Linked DNA regions of Homo sapiens: all the other regions are linked to region 1. Evidence: promoter capture Hi-C in 16 types of primary human blood cells and fetal thymus (Javierre and others, 2016). All regions are on one chromosome and are shown on one strand. Each heading gives the region's core, a stretch centred on a gene start or on the middle of the fragment in contact. The rest is flanking DNA. Distances are from core to core; before and after follow the strand shown. Region 1 holds the start of POLG2 (DNA polymerase gamma 2, accessory subunit). Region 2 overlaps CCDC47 (coiled-coil domain containing 47). Region 3 overlaps CCDC47 (coiled-coil domain containing 47). Region 4 overlaps DDX42 (DEAD-box helicase 42). Region 5 overlaps SMARCD2 (SWI/SNF related BAF chromatin remodeling complex subunit D2).

Region 1 (3,763 bases), core at 509-3,008:
GAGGCTGGGCACTGTGGCTCACACCTGTAATCCCAGCACTTTGGGGGGCCAAGATGGGCGGATTGCTTAAGCTCAGGAGTTCAAGACCAGCCTGGACAACATGGCAAAACCTCATCTCTACAAAAAACACAAAAATTAGCTGGGTGTGGTGGCATGTGCCTGTAGTCCAGCTACTTGGGAGGCTGAGGTGGGAGGTTCACTTGAGCCCGAGGTCGAGGCTGCAGTGAGCCATGATCACACCACTGCACTCGAGTCTGGGTGACAGAGTGAGACCCATATTCAATTTTAATTTACCAATTCATATTTAATTTACCAATCCATATTTAACATTAGTTTATACGTACCTTCTTTTACATATTATCTCTTCTTTTACAATGAATATCTTGGTTCCTAATAACAACTAACCCAACTATTTGAATTTTTTTTTTTTAAGACGGAGTTTTGCTCTTGTCACCCAAGCTGGAGTGCAGTGGCGTGATCTCGGCTCACTGCAACCTCTGCCTCCTGGGTTCAAGCGATTCTCCTGCCTCAGCCTCCCAAGTAGCTGGGATTACAGGCGCTCGCCGTCACGGCCGGCTAATTTTTGTCTTTTTAGTAGAGACGGGGTTTCACCATGTTGGCCAGGCTAGTCTCGAACTCCTGACCTCAGGTGATCCACCCGCCTCTGCCTTGCAAAATGCTGGGATTACAGGCGTGAGCCACTGCGCCTGGCCTTGATTTATCCTATGATATACATGAAATAGTTTCAGAATTATAATTTCAACATTTTTACTTAGAATAAATCTAAGAAAAGTTCAAAATGTCTGTGTAGTTCCTTATGCACTTAGACTACATTGCACTAAATGACAGCACTGTGTTCAGAAGTTGCCCCGTGAAATTGAGAGCGTTCCCAGGTCCTTCGGACAGATTGTTTAAGGAACAGCAATGATTCCATGGACCAGTTTTCTCCAGGGTAGAGCACTGTTAATATATCCGACTACTTCAAAAAGATGAGAACTAACTAACTTCCTTGCATGGGAATACAGGGCCAGTTGCAATCCCCAAGATCCAGCAAGACTGCCTCGCCTTTCCACCCGACACCTGTTTTGAAGCATGAAATCGTGAAGCATACCGTGAAGAAGGTTCTCCCGTAGTTTCCCAGAAGTTTTTAATACGTTCTCAAGAAATGCTACTAGCTGTTCCTTACTCAGCTCTTTGTCTTGCAAGATTTCGCGTAGAGTTTCTGCAGAAACTAACCTGAAGGCACTGTCCCCGGGTAGCAAAGGGCCTGGTTTGTGGTGGAGGGCGTCCACCGGGAATACCTGCTCCCTGAACACCACCACCGAGGTCCACCATTCTGCGGCCAGGTTCTTCCGCAACTCTACGCCCAAGGGTCCGAAGCCGGGGTGGCACCCACTCAGAAGAGAATCCCGGCTAAGCTGCTGCTTGCTTCCACTTAGGAAATGCCTTCTCTGACAGATCTCTAACAGCGCCTCGCTTCCCTCTCCAGACCCGGGGGCTTCTGGGTGCTCGCCGTTCCCCTCGAGCTCCGCGTGCGACTTCACATGCCCTCCTTTGGGGCTACTCCTTTCCGTCAACAGCTCCGGCTGCCCCGCATCTACTCGACCCCCAAACCCAGACAACAGGCACCTGCAGACCTTATGGCAGGCCCTGACGGCTACACGAGAGCGCATCTCTCTCCGAAGTTAAAGAGCACACTCTCCCATCACTCAACGGATCCCAACAAGCCACCACTACCGTTAACAGAATCCGGAGAGGCCACGGCGCAGGCGCAACGGAGGTGAGCGTGCTTGCGGGCGGCAGGCCCCACCCCGGAAGCGCATGTCTGCGTTCCGGCCGCAGCCGTCCCCCGCCCACCATGGCGGACGCCGGCTCGGATGGTTCTCTGCTAGCTTGCCGTTCGCGTCGCGCCCCTCCCTTCAGATTGACTTTTTTCTTTCCTCGTAAGCACCAGTAAAGGTTATTCCCACCTATTTATAACCGTGGTGTAGCCACTTGAGTCACTTCCTTCTGCCACTGTTTTGCAGTCCAGAAAATTAAAATACTTCAGTATTATCCAAATCACCTTCTATATACACCTCAATCAAGCACTTGGACTAAATTTGGCATTTGGTTTCCCTTTAAACAGTTTTAGTCCTTTACGGTGATTTGTAAGCCCAGGCCTTCTTAACTAGGCAAATGCTGCCGCCAGGTGGCCTAGGCCTAACCCCAGAGCCGTTGTCTTGACGCTTAAGCTTCCGGGGAGGGGGGCGATAGGCTTCGTGACTAGGGTAGTGGTATGGTCACTTTAAATATTGCAGTGGCTTCCAAAGGGCAGTCCCCAGCCAGCAGCATCTGCCTCACCTGGGAATGCACTAGAAATAAACCAAGGGGCCCTGACATGTCTTAAACCCTCCTGGTGTCAGAGAAAACCACGTACGTGCAATTTCTTCCAGGGGCCCCTTCTATGGGTTCATCAAAACAATGAGACTTGTGACTGTTATTATTAAGAGACTCATGATTAAATTGCAGGTTTCTGATTTTGCAGTTTCTATTTAAATAGGTCGAGACCTTAAGACCTACCCAGAAAGTGGAAAAGTGGTATACCCAGACTGAGGAAGTTTGATTCCAAAGTCCATGATTTCTTATACCAGCCTCAGTTACGAAAACCTTTAAAGAGGTTCAGGGAAAAAGGAACAATCTACATTTCACTGTGAGACTACCAAACTACTACCTGATTAAGAGGGGTAACAGCTTAGCAATTGAGTTAATGTAATTCAGGAGTAAAGTTTTATCATTAGTAAAGTGCTGTACCAGGTTCAGGAAATAGTTCTTCTTTACAAGTGTATACAAGGGTTTAAAAAAAGGCCAGCTAGATAGTAATTAACTGCAAAGCTGGGTACTACTGCCAGGTGTTTTCCACATTCAGGAACTCACACCAGGTAAAAGGCCTATACGCAAATAAATAAAAAGAGAGAATGGGGAGAAAAATCACATTTATTAGTTAAGACGACCACAGGCTGGACACAACACACATGCTAAAAAGTGGACTGTCTTTTAAAACTTCCAAGGTAAATAGGTAAATGTTTTCCACAGCCCAACAATCATTTCAGTGTTTACAAATTAAAAGGCCCACGGTTAAGACATTAAACAGTAAAATATGTAATAAATGCTCCAACCTACCCTCTCCCCCGAAAGCTGCTTCTAAGTTTAAAACCATGAATTTGACTAACCATGCCATTGAAAACCATCCAGGTTACTACAGGCTGAATTAGTTTTCAATGTCTAAGTCCTAGAAATATCACTCCCTATCCCAGCCCTAGCAAATTCTAACTTTACATTTGACATAAGGCATTAACATCAATTAAAGCCTCAGTTTAATAATCAGAATTTAAATGAAGTCTCCTGAAGACCTCTCTTCTGGCAAAAAAAAACACGTATCAGACTCTGGGAAAACATTCAGACCCACTTCTAGCTATTACTGAAATAAATGATTAGAAAGTTACGTTGGTGAGCCGAAGTTAAACCTAAAGCTATCCCCTGGATCTTTCTAGCAATAAACCCATGTTGAACCTACCATGAAAACTTTCATTCACTGTGCTTTTGGTTACGTTGCCTCCTGATTAGTCATTAATTTTAATGAGGTTTTTTCCTTGTGTTGAGTATGAATAGACCTTACAGTTTGAGGATCTCTAGAATTCCCTGAATTATTGGAAAGACATTCATGACTCCCAGTGTGACTAGTTAAGAGCCCCAGGGAGCCTGTGAAGACTAGAATCTACAA
Region 2 (3,763 bases), core at 645-3,144, 750 kb before region 1:
CAGTGAAATCCCATCTCTACTAAAAATATAAAAAATTAGCAGGGCGTGGTAGCACACATCTGTAGTCCCAGCTACTCTGGAGGCTGAGGTAGGAGAATTGCTTGAACTTGGGAGATGGAGGTTGCAGTGAGCCGAAATTGCACCACTGCACTCCAGCCTGGGCAACACAGTGAGACTCCATCTCAAAAACAAAAAAAAGAGGAGTTTCACATCTGGTCTTTACAGGAAAAGGTTTGCTACTACTAAGGAAACAGAATCATAAGCTACTCCCCTCTTCCTCAAAAAATACCCTATCAATTTTTGCAGATAAAGAACTCTGAAAGGATCTGCTTGGTTTCCATTGGGAGAAAGAAAAGCAAAAGAGAGTAAAGCAAGAATGCATCACTTGGAGACCAGTCCTAGATGATGCCTTATACTTGCAAAGTGCTTAAACAGTTTACAAAACAATCTCACATATATATTTTCTCTTAGTGTTCAACTACCTGTGAAGCAGGCAGGGCAAATAATTACTATCCTCACTTCACATTAGGTTAATAACTTGCCGAAAGTCAAAGGATTAGTAATTAGTTCTGCTGGCACTAAAAGCCAGGTCTTTGTCTTACAGTCCAGTGCTTATTTTGGCATTGCTAAACATCCAGGCAATGCAAATGAGATTGGAGACTTAGTGGTTTTCCAGTTTGTGACACTAAACAACATCCTCCTCTCTTTGTCCTCGCATTCACAGGAGAGTTAATGGAGTCTTAAGAGGTGGAATGCAGGGAGGAGCCCATAAATAACATATGGGGCTCTAAAAATATAAAATGTTTTTAAAATGATTGAATGGTAATAACAAAAGGAATATTCAGATGAACTCTTTTGAAGGAAAAGCATTTCAGTGCTGACTTTTATCGAACAGAAAGAATTTTCCTCTGAGCTTATACTCTTGTAGGATAACTCCACAAAGTCAAGGCGGCACTCTGAGATTTTGTCAATCACTTTAATAGATGTCCATAGGTAGTTCATATGAATGCTTAAGTTACAAAATTAGCTGCCATGGTCCAAATGTATGGGACTTTAGGAAAGCTTTTCTTACTCAAAAGATAACTAAGACTATCAACTTTGATTTCTAAAATGTAATTTAAAGGTTTGTAAAACAAGGCCACTACTATAATTATATAATATTAAAGTAATTAAGTTTTATGTTAGTTATTTTAATAACAACTTCATGAACTGTTAAAAATATTACATTTGCATCTCTCAGTTTACATATTTCTGTATTAACTTGGAGAAAAACCCATGTGAAAAGTTTCCATGCAGTTACAAAGGCAGCAGCACATGCTGTTTTCACAGCAACTTGTTATTGCCTCAGAACAGGCCTGCACTAAAGCATCAACAAAAAATACCCACCACCCCACTCCCACCAGAAAACCCAACCCTTACCCATCCCCGGCAAAAATTACCTGGTACAAGCAATGACCTAAAAATGCTTTCTTGGTAAGAAGCATTTATAAAATGCAGAGATCTGAACAAGCTAAGTGCTCGTGCAGATACATGGGCCTCTCCTCCAAGAGTTGGTTCCGCAAGAGGTGGAAAGAACTCTCAATAGTTTAGGAAAGCTCATTTTCAAAAGTATACTTACACATATTCATGGCCATTTCTTTGAAAGAACATACCCAGCCTCAACTGTGGAAAAGATAAAAGCAGAGGGAGAAGCAACGGCACACAGCCATAATATAGAGAACAGAGCTTCTCCATGAACATCCACCAGGCTGCAGCAACCAAGAAGGAAAAAACATTTGTGATTTCACACAGACCAATGATCTTACCTAGGTGAAGCATTAATTTTTCATGCATTTGTTACTCAAGAAAATAAACATACAACCACTTAAAATACAGCATTCACGTTGTCACTGGTTCGTGGTATCAGGTAAGGAAAAAATGATGCTCCTGTCCCTAGAATTTTCCATGTACATGTCAGTATCCTAATGCCTACAGACTTCCTATTAATTTTGTTATCAGCATCTCCCACCTAAAAACATATACTACATTATGTTCTGGGTCCCTGAAATTTCATTACTACATACAGTGTTCTAATTTTTACTTTTTCTCAAGTTTAATGTAGACATACAAGAAAACATCAAGCAATGTTTATTGTGCAATTCCAATCATTATTTGCAGAATCTTGGTTTAGAGTCAGTCTTTATAGCCATTTCAACTGCTTGGTTTAAACAAAAAGCAACAATCTGGTTATCTACCTATAAATTTCACGGTATTTCTTTAAACACTGAAGTACTAAAAGCACTGATGATTTGTATTATAATTTTTAAAATATTTAAAACCTACACAGATTTCATAGATCATTCCTTTTATAAAATAATCAAAATAATTTGATTATCTGGAAAAAAAAATTCTTGAAACAGAGCCCTTTCCAGGTATCTTCAATCTCTGTAAAACCCCAAACCCCAAACAGAGTAGATGATGAAATAAGGATTTCTCAGTTGCCCAAGACTGTCTGAAATTTAAGGTTGAGAAATGGACTGGCGTTTTTCATGTTTCCTGTGAATTCAGAGCTTACAGGTGGCATCAGAACTCAAATCTCTGGGATGGCTTTACATGGCTTTCACTTTGATTTGTTTCATTTTCATTTGCTTCTTTTCCAACTTCTTTTGCTCACGCCTCAATGCAGCCTCCTAGAGAAAGAAGGGGTAATAAATAGAGAAAGGGAGTGGGGACGAGAGAATTCAAATTAAGCTTGAAACATATGTTAAAAAAAAATCCAAATTAGAATACTGCCTATAGTATTATTCAAAAACTTAGGCTTGCACCATAACATTCTAGAAGATAGTTATAAAAATAATTGCCAATATCTACATTAGTGAATAAAAATTAAATCAACTTCAAATGAAGCAAAGGTAAACTAAAATCTCAGTTTTGAAAGAAACTACTATAATTAACCAGCCTTTGTTATTCTGGTTTGATTTTTTTCTGTACCCAGGGAACACTTAGCCTGATGTTCACCATACCATTCATGATGGCATTATATCATAAATGTATAACTGCCAGAAGATACATTCTACTTCAGTTCAATAAATTTTAAGAATCTTGTTCCATCAGGTTATTCATTGCAAATTTCTTATTAGCACAGACACCATACCTGCACATAATACTTAAATTCATAATGCTCTATTTGAGACATCATATTTATCAAATGTGATAAAAATTATCAAATTTATCATATTTTTATTTAGGAATTAGGAAGTTACATAGAAGAGTAAGAAGGTTCAGGTTATTATTACGTGGACTGATAGAAGCCTTAGAGGTCAAGTCAAAGTATGACTTCACTGTTGGCCACTAGTGGTCACACCTGATTAAAAGTTTATTTCAGCTACAATCTCAAACTTCTTATTTTTAGGGTACTGGGGTAAAAATGTGCTCAGAAATATACTCAACTGGTACAGGATGGAGAAAATAGGGAAGAAAAGAAGAAGTGCAAAGCATATATAGTTCTTCATAGTGCAACAAATTAGGTTTCAAAGGGTGATTTGTAAATTCCTGGTTTGGGAACTATTGACTGTCTTAGGTTTTTTCTTTATTTTTTTTTGAGATAGGGTCTTGCTGTGTCACCCAGGCTGGAGTGCAGTGGCACAATCTCGGGTCATTGTAGCCTCTGCCTTCCGGGTTCAAGCCATTCTCCTGCCTTAGCCTCCCGAGTAGCTGGGATTACAGGCATGTGCCACCACACCCAGCTGATTTTTGTATTTTTAGCAGAGACGGGGTTTCACCA
Region 3 (3,763 bases), core at 376-2,875, 730 kb before region 1:
CTGTATGCAAAGTATCTAGCATAATATATAAACACTACTGTGTTGCAGAGCAGGTGGATACATGCTTACTATTAAAGAGAAATAAGGTGCTAAATGCCAAATAGGTGAATGTGAGGTTAGTCCACCTCATTCCCTACATTGCACAACTACAGAGGTTCCTTGAAGTCCTTCAATGTATATTTCAGCAGTGGATCCAAAACTCAAGTGTCAGATTCTAAGGGAATTTTGAGGGACTTTCAATTTCTAAAAGATGAATTGAGAGCATTTATCAAGCTACCTAAAATGTCAAACTTTCTTGGTTTCCGTCAGAATTTTATCAACTTGTTTTGAAAACATCGATTACATTATACTAATCAGAAGCTGTTTAGCAATTTTACTGCTGACTCATGAAAGATGAGAAAATTATTAAATACAATATATTCTTATTTTTAGAAACAGGGTCTCATTCTGTCACCCAGGCTGGAGTGCAGGAGCATGATTCTGTACCACTGCAGCCTCAAACTCCTGAGCTCAATTCTCCCACCTCATCCTCCCAAGTAGTTGGGACCACAGAAGCACACCACTGTGACTGGCCAATTTTTATTTTATTTTATTTGTAGAGACAAGGTCTCACTATGTTGCCCAGACTGGTCTTAAACTCCTGGCCCCAAATAATCCTCCCACCTTGGCCTCCCAAATCACTGGAATTACACGTGTGAGCCACCGCACCGGGCCAAAAAACAGGATCCTCAAGGCTGGATGCAGTAGCTCACGTCTGTAATCCCAGCAATTTGGGAGGCCAAGGCAGCCAGATTGCTTGAGCCCAGGAGTTCGAGACCAGCCTGCACAATATGATGAAACTCTGTCTCTACAAAAAAAATACAAAAATTAGCTGGGTGTGGTAGCATGTGCCTGTAGTCCTGTCTACTCAGAAGGCTAAGATGGAAGGATCTCTTGAACCTGGGAGGTCGAGGCTGCAGTGAACTGTAATCATACCACTGCACACAAGCCTGGGTAACAGCGTGAGACCTTGCCTCAAAAAAATAAAAATAAAAAGGCCGGGTGCAGTGGCTCATGCCTGTAATCCCTGCAATCTGGGAGGCCGAGGTGGGTGGACCATGAGGTCAAGAGATTGAGACCATCCTGGCCAACATGGTGAAACCCCGACTCTACTAAAAATACAAAAATGAGCAGGGCATGGTGGTGCACGCCTGTAGTCCCAGCTACTTGGGAGGCTGAGGCAGAAGAATCGCTTGAACCCAGGAGGTGGAGGTTGCAGTGAGCCGAGATCGCGCCACTGCACTCCAGCCTGGTGACAGAGTGAGACTCCATCTCAAAAATAGTAATAATAATAATAAAATTAAATTAAATTAAAAAAAAAAAGAGCAGGGGGAATCCTTGAGAGAAAAAACAATGCACCCTCTTTGGTATTCCATGAAAGCAGTTAGATGCTTATACTGAGGGGAATACATCATCCTTACCAGATTGTTTTCAAGCAAGAAGCTGGGCTGACATTGGCCTCACTTACCCACTAAAGTAAAGTTGCTCTCCAAAAGCTCCCTATGAGTGTTAAACCAGGCCTGTGCAAGGCGACTGTTTTTATTCTTCCCAATGATGTAATTCATGATATAAGCAAGCAGACCAGTCACCATCAAAATTTCTAGATAATAACTCTCCCAGCTGTTCTGGAGGTGTGCAGGAACCTAAAAAAGCAAAATCATTCCATTAAATGTTGGCTGAGACTGAAGAATGAAATCTACCTCATGGCAGGAAGAATGAGAAAATCCATAAACAGAAGGGATACTTCAGATATCTGTCATTGAATAAGGTTATACTTTGAAAAATAGGTCCATTTTACTTTTCTAGGCTAGCTTGATAAAAGATTCTTTAAGGAAATATAAGGACAATCAAATGGGATGAAAAGCTGGAAAGCCCTTTGTTTTACACTTGGTCCTTAACCCCCAAATAAATTCAATGTACTGTACATCACCAAGGAATAAATTTTACTTATTCCCTGATAAGTAGTAAAACTAGAAGTGCTACAATGATGAATAGGGGTTGCTTCTGTAGGTGTTGATTTTTTTTTTTTTGAGACGGAGAGGTGTTGATTTTTATCAGAAAAATTGATGTCAAGCTCCTTCTCAGCTCCCACTATTGCATTAACACCAGCTATACATCATTAATTTTATTTCTGGGATTGATGACAAGACATTTTGTTGTTTAGTTGGGAATTCAGAATCCTGGATACCTACATCAACAATCGTTATTGGGTCTTTATTTTTGCTAGAAGAAGTATCTGGTTTGTCTTCATAACCTTCAAATTCTTCATCATCATATGGTTCACTCTCAGTATCTCCCTCCTACAAAAATGAGGCATCATCCGTTTTCCTCTACAAATGTCACCAGCAGCTGTGTCTCATTTTGTTGGCAACATTTGTTGGGGAAAACAAGAACGTGTAAGCAGCAAGCACAGAAAACAGATGTTACATGTTTTTAACAAAACGATTGGGTACAAATTTCAGCTTAAAATGAGAAAGTTCTGAAGACCTAATGTGCAGCAAGGTGACTACAGTTAATAATAATGTATTGTAGACTTGAAATCTGCTAAGAGAATATATTGTAAGTATTCTCACCACACACACACACACACACACACACACACACACACGGAGGCAACTATGTTAATTAGCTTGATTGTGGTAAGCACTTCATATTGTATGTAGAGGTATACCAAAACACTATGTTGTGCACCTTAAATATATACAATTTTTGTCAGTTACACCTCAATAAAGCTGGGGAGCACCCAAAACACCAAAATGATGAGTCCCCATGCTTTTGATGACAAAGTTTTTTCTTTTCTTTTTTTTTTTGGAGACAAGGTCTTGCTCTATCACCCAGGCTGAAGTGCAGTGGCTCAATCTCAGCTCACTGCAACCTCCACCTCCCAGGTTCAAGCGATTCTCTTGGCTCAGCCTCCCAAGTAGCTGACATGACAGGCACGCACCACCACGCCCAGCTAATTTTGTATTTTTAGTAGAGACAGGGTTTCACCATGTTGGCCAGGCTGGTCTCAAACTCCTGACCTTGGGTGATCTGCCTGCCTTGGCCTCCCAAAGTGCTGGGATTACAGGCATGAGCCACCGTGCCCAGCCAATTGCAAAGTTCTAAATAATACAATTCTCACCCACAAACAGTATCTATTCTCTAACCCCTCTTCCAGTCAGGGTTTCAATAGAAGAACACAATTCATTCTGTTAATGTAAAAGGTGGAAACTTACCACAGAACATTTAGAAGAGCTCTACCTAGTGAATGAAAATGAAGACTCCAGACAGTAAAGGTCTCTTGAGCCTGAGGATTAATTTTAATGTTTGGGAAAGGTGCTAGTTACAAATTTTTCCAATAAATTAATAAAAAGAGCCTCACCTGGGTATCTGCATCTTCAAAATCTCCTTCTTGGTTTTCATCCTGCCCTTCCAACTCCACAGTGGTCTCATCTTCATCATCTTCAGTGATTATGACCCGTTGAGGAGATTCAGTAACAGAGTCTTCCATGACATCCTCAAATTCAGCGAAGTCATTATCATCATACTCTACTATGTCCTCCTCATCCTCAAAATCATCAAACTTGGCTTCAGAGACACTCCCAAACACCAGAAGGACAACACAGAAAGTGTGGAAGGCTTTCATTGCACCTTGAGAAAAAAAGCTTAAAAAAAAAGAGAACCCCAAAATGGATTGCCATTCTATACATACTGATCAGATTTTATAAACAGTAAAAATCTA
Region 4 (3,763 bases), core at 745-3,244, 690 kb before region 1:
GTGTAAAATTTGGAAAAGATTATTTTGCAATAAAATCAAACTTACAGAATTGACTCTTGAATTCTAGACTAACTTTGAATAATTGGACCTGCAGATTGACTATCCACCATTTGAAAAAAACTTTTACAATGAGCATGAAGAGATAACCAACCTCACTCCACAGCAGTTAATAGATCTCCGGCATAAGCTCAATCTTCGGGTAAGCATCATTAAGCTCAATATTCTTAATATTAATGTTAATTAGTCCAGATTTAGTATTATTGGTTATCTAAACTAATAACCTTGAATTTCTTTTCTAATGGTCTCTGAACTGTCTTTGCCAGAGTAATTATTATATCCCTTCTGTTCATGTCTCTTAATTTGATTGTTTTAGTCTTCTAGATGCTGTTTTAGGATAGGATCATTTTCTTGTTTCATATTTCAGTCAGTTTTATATGTTCTGTGCTGGATGGGCTAGTGATGAAGGGTGGGAGTCCCCATCTAAAGGAAGAGGAAACAAAAGGAATAGATGTTAACAGATGATATCTTAGAATATTTTGAAATGAAGATAAACTTGTCTGTCAAATTACATATAGTATGCTTTATTTTAAAAATTAGAATAAACTAATACCTTTTAAAAATATGCATGTACTAATTTCAGAATGGTTTAAACTGCCTACCAGAAAGTTTTGGGCTGCACATTGGCTACATTGGTTTAAGGTGCTGATAGATGGTAAATGAAACACACAGAAAAAATATGCTATGCTATCTACTCTAATATAGACAACTTTCTCGCCTGTGTGCACCTTATCAGTTGCTACACGATGTTTAAACTCCTGTTTTCCAGGAGGGGTGTGTATTTGTGTGTGTACACTTGTCTGTTTTCCAAGAGGTTACTCATCTCCCCAGTGACCCAAGAAAAATTTTAAGTAAAACCCCTGAAATCCTGATTGGAAATATCAACATCACCAGAGAAGCATTGAAAGGTTACCACTTTGGGGGACAAAATGGAGATTATAAGCCCCATTCTTCACCTAGGTGCAGTTTGAACAGGGCTTGACAGTGGCTGGACCATCACTAAGTGAGACTTTAATTCATCAAGCATAACTGAAAATGGAGGCAGTAGATTATATCTTGGTAGCCAGCATGTGTAGACTTGTCTTATTTGGAGCCCACTTGGAATTTTCATTTCAAGAGTAAGATACATTAATTTTTTTCTACCATCTGGTTAATACTTAATGCAAAATGGCAAAAGAACAGTTATGGCTTCCCAATTCATTGAACAATTTTTTTTCCGTTTTATTTGTTATGAGAAAATTAATTTTGAGTTAAGAAATTTTTAATCATTTAAAATTGTATGACAATTATCTTGGGAATATTTATCATGGAGTTTTTAATATGAGGTTTATATTTGTTACCATTTGAGGTTTTTCCTTTTCATTGTATGATTTTGGCTTACAGACTTGTATTTTTACTTCATACTCCAGCTAAAATGCTAGATCCAGGTAAGTATTGTTGAACTTCAAATGCTGTTAATGTTGAAGTACAAGTCATTCTGGGGAGTTGTCTCTATCTCTAGGTCTCTGGTGCTGCACCTCCTAGACCAGGAAGTAGCTTTGCTCATTTTGGGTTTGACGAACAACTTATGCACCAGATTCGGAAATCTGAATACACACAGCCCACTCCAATACAGTGCCAGGTAAGTAAAACATAATGAAAGAAAAATAAAGTAGGGTAGTCTTTCATGACTATATTAATTTAAAAACAAATCACAGCAGTAAAACAGTGTTTAGTGTAGAACCTTGTTGATAAGGATAGAGGTATTTATCACTCTTAAGAAGTCACTAAATGGCTGACAAATATTCTTTTGTATCTGATACGTATGTTGAAAATATGATATGAAGAAAATAATTTATTAGGCCTAAACCTAACCAAAAAGGTTCGTATATAGACAAATTTAGCACTGTCAATGACTAGAATTCCTTCGTTCGTCACTTGAAAATTCTCATTCATTACTGAAAGTTTTAGCTTCTTTTTCCCATTTATATATGGGATTTATTTATTCTTATGCAGAACATTCTCATTTTCTGTATATGAATGAGATAGTCTGTACCTTCTTAAGGGGGGAAAATTTTTAAAATTTTAGCAACCCTTCATTATAAATTGCAATTTTTCTGTTTTGTTTTTGTTTTTGTTTTTTTTGGGGACAGAGTCTCACTCTGTTGTCCAAGCTGGAGTGCAGTGGCGCGATCTTGGCTCACTGCAATCTCTGCCTCCCAGGTTCAAGCAATTCTCCTGCCTCGGCCTCCCAAGTAGGTGGGATTACAGGCGCACGCCAGCACACCTGGCTAATTTTTTGTATTTTAGTTGAGATAGGGTTTCACCGTGTTGCCCAGGCTGGTCTCGAGCTCCTGAGCTCAGGGAACCTGCCCACCTCGGCCTCCCAAAGTGCTGGGATTACAGGCGTGAGCCACTGCCCGGCCTTGATTTTTCATTTCTGTATTTTAAACAAAATGGAGTTGTTTCTGTTCTGTAAGTGGTGGCTGATATCCACGTAATGAGAATGATGTCATTTCCTATAAATCAAGAAGTTAATGAGAATGTTGGATATTGATATTTCTATTTCACAACCAGTATGCATAGCACCAGGTATGTTTTGTTCCATTGCAAATAAAAATGTTAGTAGTCATTTATCATTCCCCAGGATTTGCTTCAGTACATCTTTAGAATTGAAATTTTAGAGTGGTTATATTTTACTTTTTCTCCAGGGTGTGCCTGTGGCATTAAGTGGTAGAGACATGATTGGTATTGCCAAAACAGGTAGTGGGAAAACTGCAGCCTTCATTTGGCCCATGTTGATTCATATAATGGACCAGAAGGAGTTGGAACCAGGTGATGGACCAATTGCAGTGATTGTGTGTCCTACCAGGGAGCTTTGCCAGCAGGTATGTGCTTTCTATAGAATGCCTCCTTCCATATGTGGACTAGCAAGGGACCAGCCAGTCAAGTGAGGTAGAATGACCAGGAAACTTTTTTTTTTAATTGTGATAAGATACACACAAAATTGATTATCTTAACCATTTTTAATGTACAGTTCAGTGGCATTAAGTATATTCACAGTGTTGTGCTACCAGGAAACTTTTGGAAAGTATTATGTGTTAAATATTTTCTATATAACCAAATACATATTTTCCCCTAAAAACTACTGTTTTTATTTATTTTTATTTATTTGCTTTTTTTGAGACAGAGTCTCACTCTTTTGCCCAGGCTGGAGTGCAGTGGTGTGATCTCAGCTCACTGCAACCTCCACCTCCCAGTTTCAAGCAATTCTCCTGCCTCAGCCGAGAGGCTGGGATCACGGGCACACGCCACCACACCTGGCTAATTTTTTTATTTTTAGTAGAGACGGGGTTTCACCATGTTGGCCAGGCTGGTCTCAAACTCCTGACCTCAAGTGATCTGCTTGCCTTGGCCTCCCACAGTGCTGGGATTACAGGTGTGAGCCACTGTGCCCGGCCAGAACTACTTTTTTTAAGAGGAAAAGCCTATTGTGATATGGGGATTGTTTGTATTATAAGCTGACAGTTTTTCTGTAGGATGAGTTCATTTTATCTTGGTAGAAAAGCAGTGACAGGATCAGGAAGAGAAGGGGGTAAAATGAATAAAAGATTTTAGATAATCTGTTGAGATGCAATAATGGTATTCCATTCATTTATACCTTTATGAATAAAATCGTGGTTTTAAAGTATGTTCTAGGTTTCGATTTTTTATGACATCACATTCT
Region 5 (3,763 bases), core at 49-2,548, 660 kb before region 1:
CCACCCCTGGGCTAATCCACCCTGGGAACTGCTGTGGGTAAAAATCACCCAGAGCTTTACATAGGAGTCCCCTCGGGAAAGAGGACTACACCTTGAGGTCTCGGCGCTGGGAACGGAGCCATTCCTGGATGAAGTCCTGGGGGTCGGTGCTAAAACTGAGCATGAAATCTCTCTGGGTCTTCAGCTGGTTGATGGACTCAATGGTCTCATGGATCTGGAGAGGGTACCTGTGTCAGACTGTGCCCCCAAAGCTTACATGCAAGCAACTGAGCCAGAGTTCCCATCCCGTCCTCCAGGTGCTACATGTATGGAAATGCTGGACAGAGCCAGCCCACCCCAATCCTGGGCCCCAGAGGAAGCTGTGGAGCCAGAGGGCCCACCTTGACATCAAGGGAGGCGATCTCCTGCTGATTGGTGGTAGAGGCCAGAAAATTGCTCATTTGGGCCTTCAGTGGGTCGTCCACCTCCACATCGATGTCGTAACAGGCTGTCTTCTTCTGGTCGTTAGGGTCGACACTGCAGGCAGCACATGGGGAGGGAAGGCACATAGCTGACTTCATCCTGCCCACCTGGGCCAAATCTGGGGCCCATTCTCTGCACACACTCAGGGAAAAAGAAACCTGATGCTTTCTTTGGCTTTAGTTCAAGCCAAGGGTGAATCTGCTCTTAGAAGAGCCTTCCTGTCCCCCTCCTTGCATTTACCTAATGACATGGTTGATGACAATGGGGTCTGGATGCTGCAGCAACCCTGCCAGCTTCATGGGAATCTCGGAGAAACGGAGTCGGCCACAACTGAAGATCTGGAGGAAATACGAAAGGCTCAGCGTTGGCTTGTGGGCACAGTGGAGTGGACCATTCCAGGACCAGTGAGGGCAGCAGTCTGCAGGCTGTGGCCAAGGAGTAGCCCAGCAGGCAAGGCAAAGCAAGGGCTGAGAAAACGGGGGCTGGCATCTGGCTAACCTGGCGGAAGTAACGGTTGCAGTTGATGTACTCCCGCTCGTGCCCATCCTGCAGCTGGTTGTGCTTGATGTAAAGCCACAGGGCCTGCATGATGGCGGCCCTCGTCTGCGTGTGCACTCCCAGCAGCCTTGCCAATCGGGGGTCCAATTTGTACTGGGGAGGCTGGAGTTGGATGGAGGGGAGTCAGAACGGGTTCTTATAGTAGAACAGTGGGAAAATAGGGCAGGGACAGGAAGGGTTTCTAGGAACCAGCTCCCCTCCTGAGGGGTCCCTGTGGGCCCAGAAATGACCCCAGGGTCTCTGTCACCTGATGATCCAGCATGAGCAGGAGGGTGCACTTGACGTTGAGGTCTCCAGGCCGTTTTACTTGGAAGCCATCTGTCTCCTGGGTGGTGGGCATCCGGTGCCACTGGCAGGGAGGGAAGCATGGCTTATCACCAAGGGGGTGGGCGTGAACACAGGGCCTCCCAAGGGCCCTGAGGCCATTTCCCTGCCAAACCTGCACATCAGCCTGCTTTTGCCCCAGGCCCACTCTCACCTCCACCAGGTGATTGTCAGGCCCGTACAGCTCCTTGTCCAGCTCAATGACGAGGCTCTTAAAGAATGAAGAAAACTTCCTCTTCTGTTTGCTAGGCTGGGGATGGAAAGGGGTGTGAGATGGTGCTGCTGAGCTCTCAAATCTCAAGCTATGCTAAATCCCAAGAAAGAGAAGCCCCATTTCAGCCCTGGAGCTCCGGATACTGAAGATTCCTGGGCCCTGAAGGATGGAAGCAGGACTCTGGGCAGACTGGAGGCAGGGAAATGGTGCCCTCTTGCAGCCCACGAGGGACTTCCTCGAGACACTCGACTGCCATCTGCAGGAACACTGTAATAACCACACAAATCAACCTCCAACGGGCTTGGAGCAGCGCCCCCCTCCCTATGGCAGGACTTCTCTGGGAGCGCCCAAGTGTCTGGCCCAGTCTTTTTTTTTCTGAGACACAATCTCACTCTGTCACCCAGGCTGAAGTGCAGTGGTGTGATCATAACTCACTGAAGCTCGACCTCCTGGGCTCAAGCCATCCTCCTGCATCAGCCTTATGAGTAGCTGGGACTACAGGTGCATGCCACCGCACCCAGCTAATTTTTAAATTTTTTGTAGAGATGGGGTCTGGCTCTGCTGCTCAGGCTAGTATCAAACTCCTTGGTCTCAGTCTTAAACCCACACAGGCCTCCTTCCCTCCAGAACCTCCCTCCCCAACTCACATCATCCAGCAGTTTTCCTTCCACTCGGAGTTCCCAGGAAGCCACCTTGTCCCCTGCTGGGGTTCCCCCAGGGGTCCCTGCAGTTCCTGCACTATCGCCTTCCGCCTTGCTGGGACTGAACGTATTGGAAATGTAGATCCGAAGCTTTCGCTTTTGCTAAAGAGAGAAAGGCAATCACAACTGGAGGTGGACCAAGATGCTGGGACACAGTGCTACCGCATCTTCTCATATGAACCATTCAACAATCAGTACTGAGCACCATGAGCCAGCCAGGCACCTTGTCAGGTACTGGGAATCAGAAGTAGTAAGTCCCAGTCCCAGCCTTTTTTTTTTTTAGACATGGTCTCACTCTGTCACCCAGGCTGGAGTGCAGTGGCGCGATCTCAGCTCACTTGCAACCTCTGACTCCCAGGTTCAAGCGATTCTCTTGCCTCAGTCTCCCATGTAGCTGGGACTACAGGTGCGCACCACCATGCCCAGCTAATTTTTTGTGTTTTTGTAAAGATGGTATTTCAACATGTTGGCCATGCTGGTCTCAAACTCCTGACCTCAGGTGATCTGCCCACTTCGGCCTCCTAAAGTGCTGAGATTACAGGTGTGAGCCACCGCACCTGGCCGGAACTCACCATTTTATGGGGAAAGAGATGCATCACCAACAATGCCAGCACAGTGGGACTGGTGCTACGGCATGATGGAGTAACACGCAGCCAGTCTCTGGCTCACATCTTACATGAAACCCAAACACCCATCACGGCTCCAAAATATCCTAGTCCCCTGGAAAGGCTTCACCACTCGGGACTGTTCTACATTATTATTAAGAAAAGCTTCTCGGCTGGGTGCAGTGGCTCACGCCTGTAATCTCAGCACTTTGGGAGGCCGAGGCAGTCAGGAGTTCGAGACCAGCCTGGGTAACATGGCGATACTAAAAATACAAAAATTAGCCGGGCGTGGTGACAGGCATCTGTAATCCTAGTTACTCGGGAGGCTGAGGCAAGAAGAATTACTTGAACCTGGGATGCGAAGGTTGCAGTGAGCCGAGATCGCAACACTGCACTCCAGCTTAGGTGAAAGAGCGAGACTCCATCTCAGAAAAAAAAAAAAAAAAAAAAAAGAAAATTTCTCTATGGATGGGGAAGGGGAAGGAGAAAGGAACTACCTTTATCCCCTAGTCTAGTGGTTTTCAAACTTTTGACCACCACCCATAAGATTTACATTTTCAATTATGACCCAAGGTCTGCATATCTATTTATCAGAAACAAAAATGTCATGAAAGAATCCATTTACTACTATGGTAAGTACTACTGTGAAGTATTTTAAGATTTTCTACTGTCATATATTCATTTAAAACATACTGGCCCCAACACATTCAACTGAGTTCGTACTCTACTAGTGGGCTGCATCCTGCATGTGAAAAACCCGGCTCTAGCCCAACTTGCTTGGCCCCTGGAAAACAAGGGGGTGGAAGGCAAGGAAACCTGGGAAGGCTAGAGGTGGTCAGGGCCACACATACTGTCAGAGGCTTTTTGATGGCCTCCTGGATCTCCATCCGCTTGCGAGC

Evidence for each region. Contacts are between HindIII fragments. The CHiCAGO score rates a contact against its expected background, and 5 or more counts as called.
Region 2: a contact is called between a fragment that was not itself captured here and the fragment with the promoter of POLG2 in region 1, in 1 of 17 cell types (monocytes). The highest score is 6.8, in monocytes.
Region 3: a contact is called between a fragment that was not itself captured here and the fragment with the promoter of POLG2 in region 1, in 1 of 17 cell types (total B cells). The highest score is 5.7, in total B cells.
Region 4: a fragment that was not itself captured here is called in contact with the fragment with the promoter of POLG2 in region 1 in 2 of 17 cell types (naive CD4 T cells and monocytes); the score reaches 6.4 in naive CD4 T cells.
Region 5: a fragment that was not itself captured here is called in contact with the fragment with the promoter of POLG2 in region 1 in 2 of 17 cell types (non-activated CD4 T cells and total CD8 T cells); the score reaches 6.8 in non-activated CD4 T cells.

Annotation. Positions count from the first base shown.
Region 1 is chr17:64,495,296-64,499,058 of GRCh38, forward strand. It overlaps POLG2 (DNA polymerase gamma 2, accessory subunit), which reads right to left and starts at 1,759. Exons shown (of 8, transcript NM_007215.4): 1 at 1,112-1,759. The coding sequence starts at 1,673. DDX5 (DEAD-box helicase 5) reads right to left here. Exons shown (of 13, transcript NM_004396.5): 13 at 2,959-3,763. It also overlaps a transcript of MILR1 not described here. RefSeq lists enhancers at 936-1,795, 1,447-1,516, 1,897-2,036. The HindIII fragment of the contact is 2,967 bases long and covers 1-2,232 here.
Region 2 is chr17:63,744,293-63,748,055 of GRCh38, forward strand. It overlaps CCDC47 (coiled-coil domain containing 47), which reads right to left. Exons shown (of 13, transcript NM_020198.3): 13 at 963-2,669. The coding sequence ends at 2,589. Among named protein-coding and RNA genes, the nearest start is that of STRADA, 4.4 kb to the left of the region's middle. The HindIII fragment of the contact is 1,668 bases long and covers 1,061-2,728 here.
Region 3 is chr17:63,762,509-63,766,271 of GRCh38, forward strand. It overlaps CCDC47 (coiled-coil domain containing 47), which reads right to left. Exons shown (of 13, transcript NM_020198.3): 2 at 3,404-3,686; 3 at 2,232-2,339; 4 at 1,508-1,682. The coding sequence starts at 3,667. Among named protein-coding and RNA genes, the nearest start is that of CCDC47, 9.2 kb to the right of the region's middle. The HindIII fragment of the contact is 4,117 bases long and covers 1-3,684 here.
Region 4 is chr17:63,804,977-63,808,739 of GRCh38, forward strand. It overlaps DDX42 (DEAD-box helicase 42), which reads left to right. Exons shown (of 18, transcript NM_203499.3): 7 at 95-199; 8 at 1,559-1,678; 9 at 2,748-2,924. Among named protein-coding and RNA genes, the nearest start is that of PSMC5, 21 kb to the right of the region's middle. The HindIII fragment of the contact is 8,082 bases long and covers 1-3,763 here.
Region 5 is chr17:63,833,207-63,836,969 of GRCh38, forward strand. It overlaps SMARCD2 (SWI/SNF related BAF chromatin remodeling complex subunit D2), which reads right to left. Exons shown (of 13, transcript NM_001098426.2): 4 at 3,716-3,763; 5 at 2,206-2,361; 6 at 1,499-1,594; 7 at 1,268-1,369; 8 at 961-1,122; 9 at 703-800; 10 at 381-516; 11 at 92-214. Among named protein-coding and RNA genes, the nearest start is that of FTSJ3, 7.4 kb to the left of the region's middle. RefSeq lists an enhancer at 1,837-1,996. The HindIII fragment of the contact is 2,098 bases long and covers 250-2,347 here.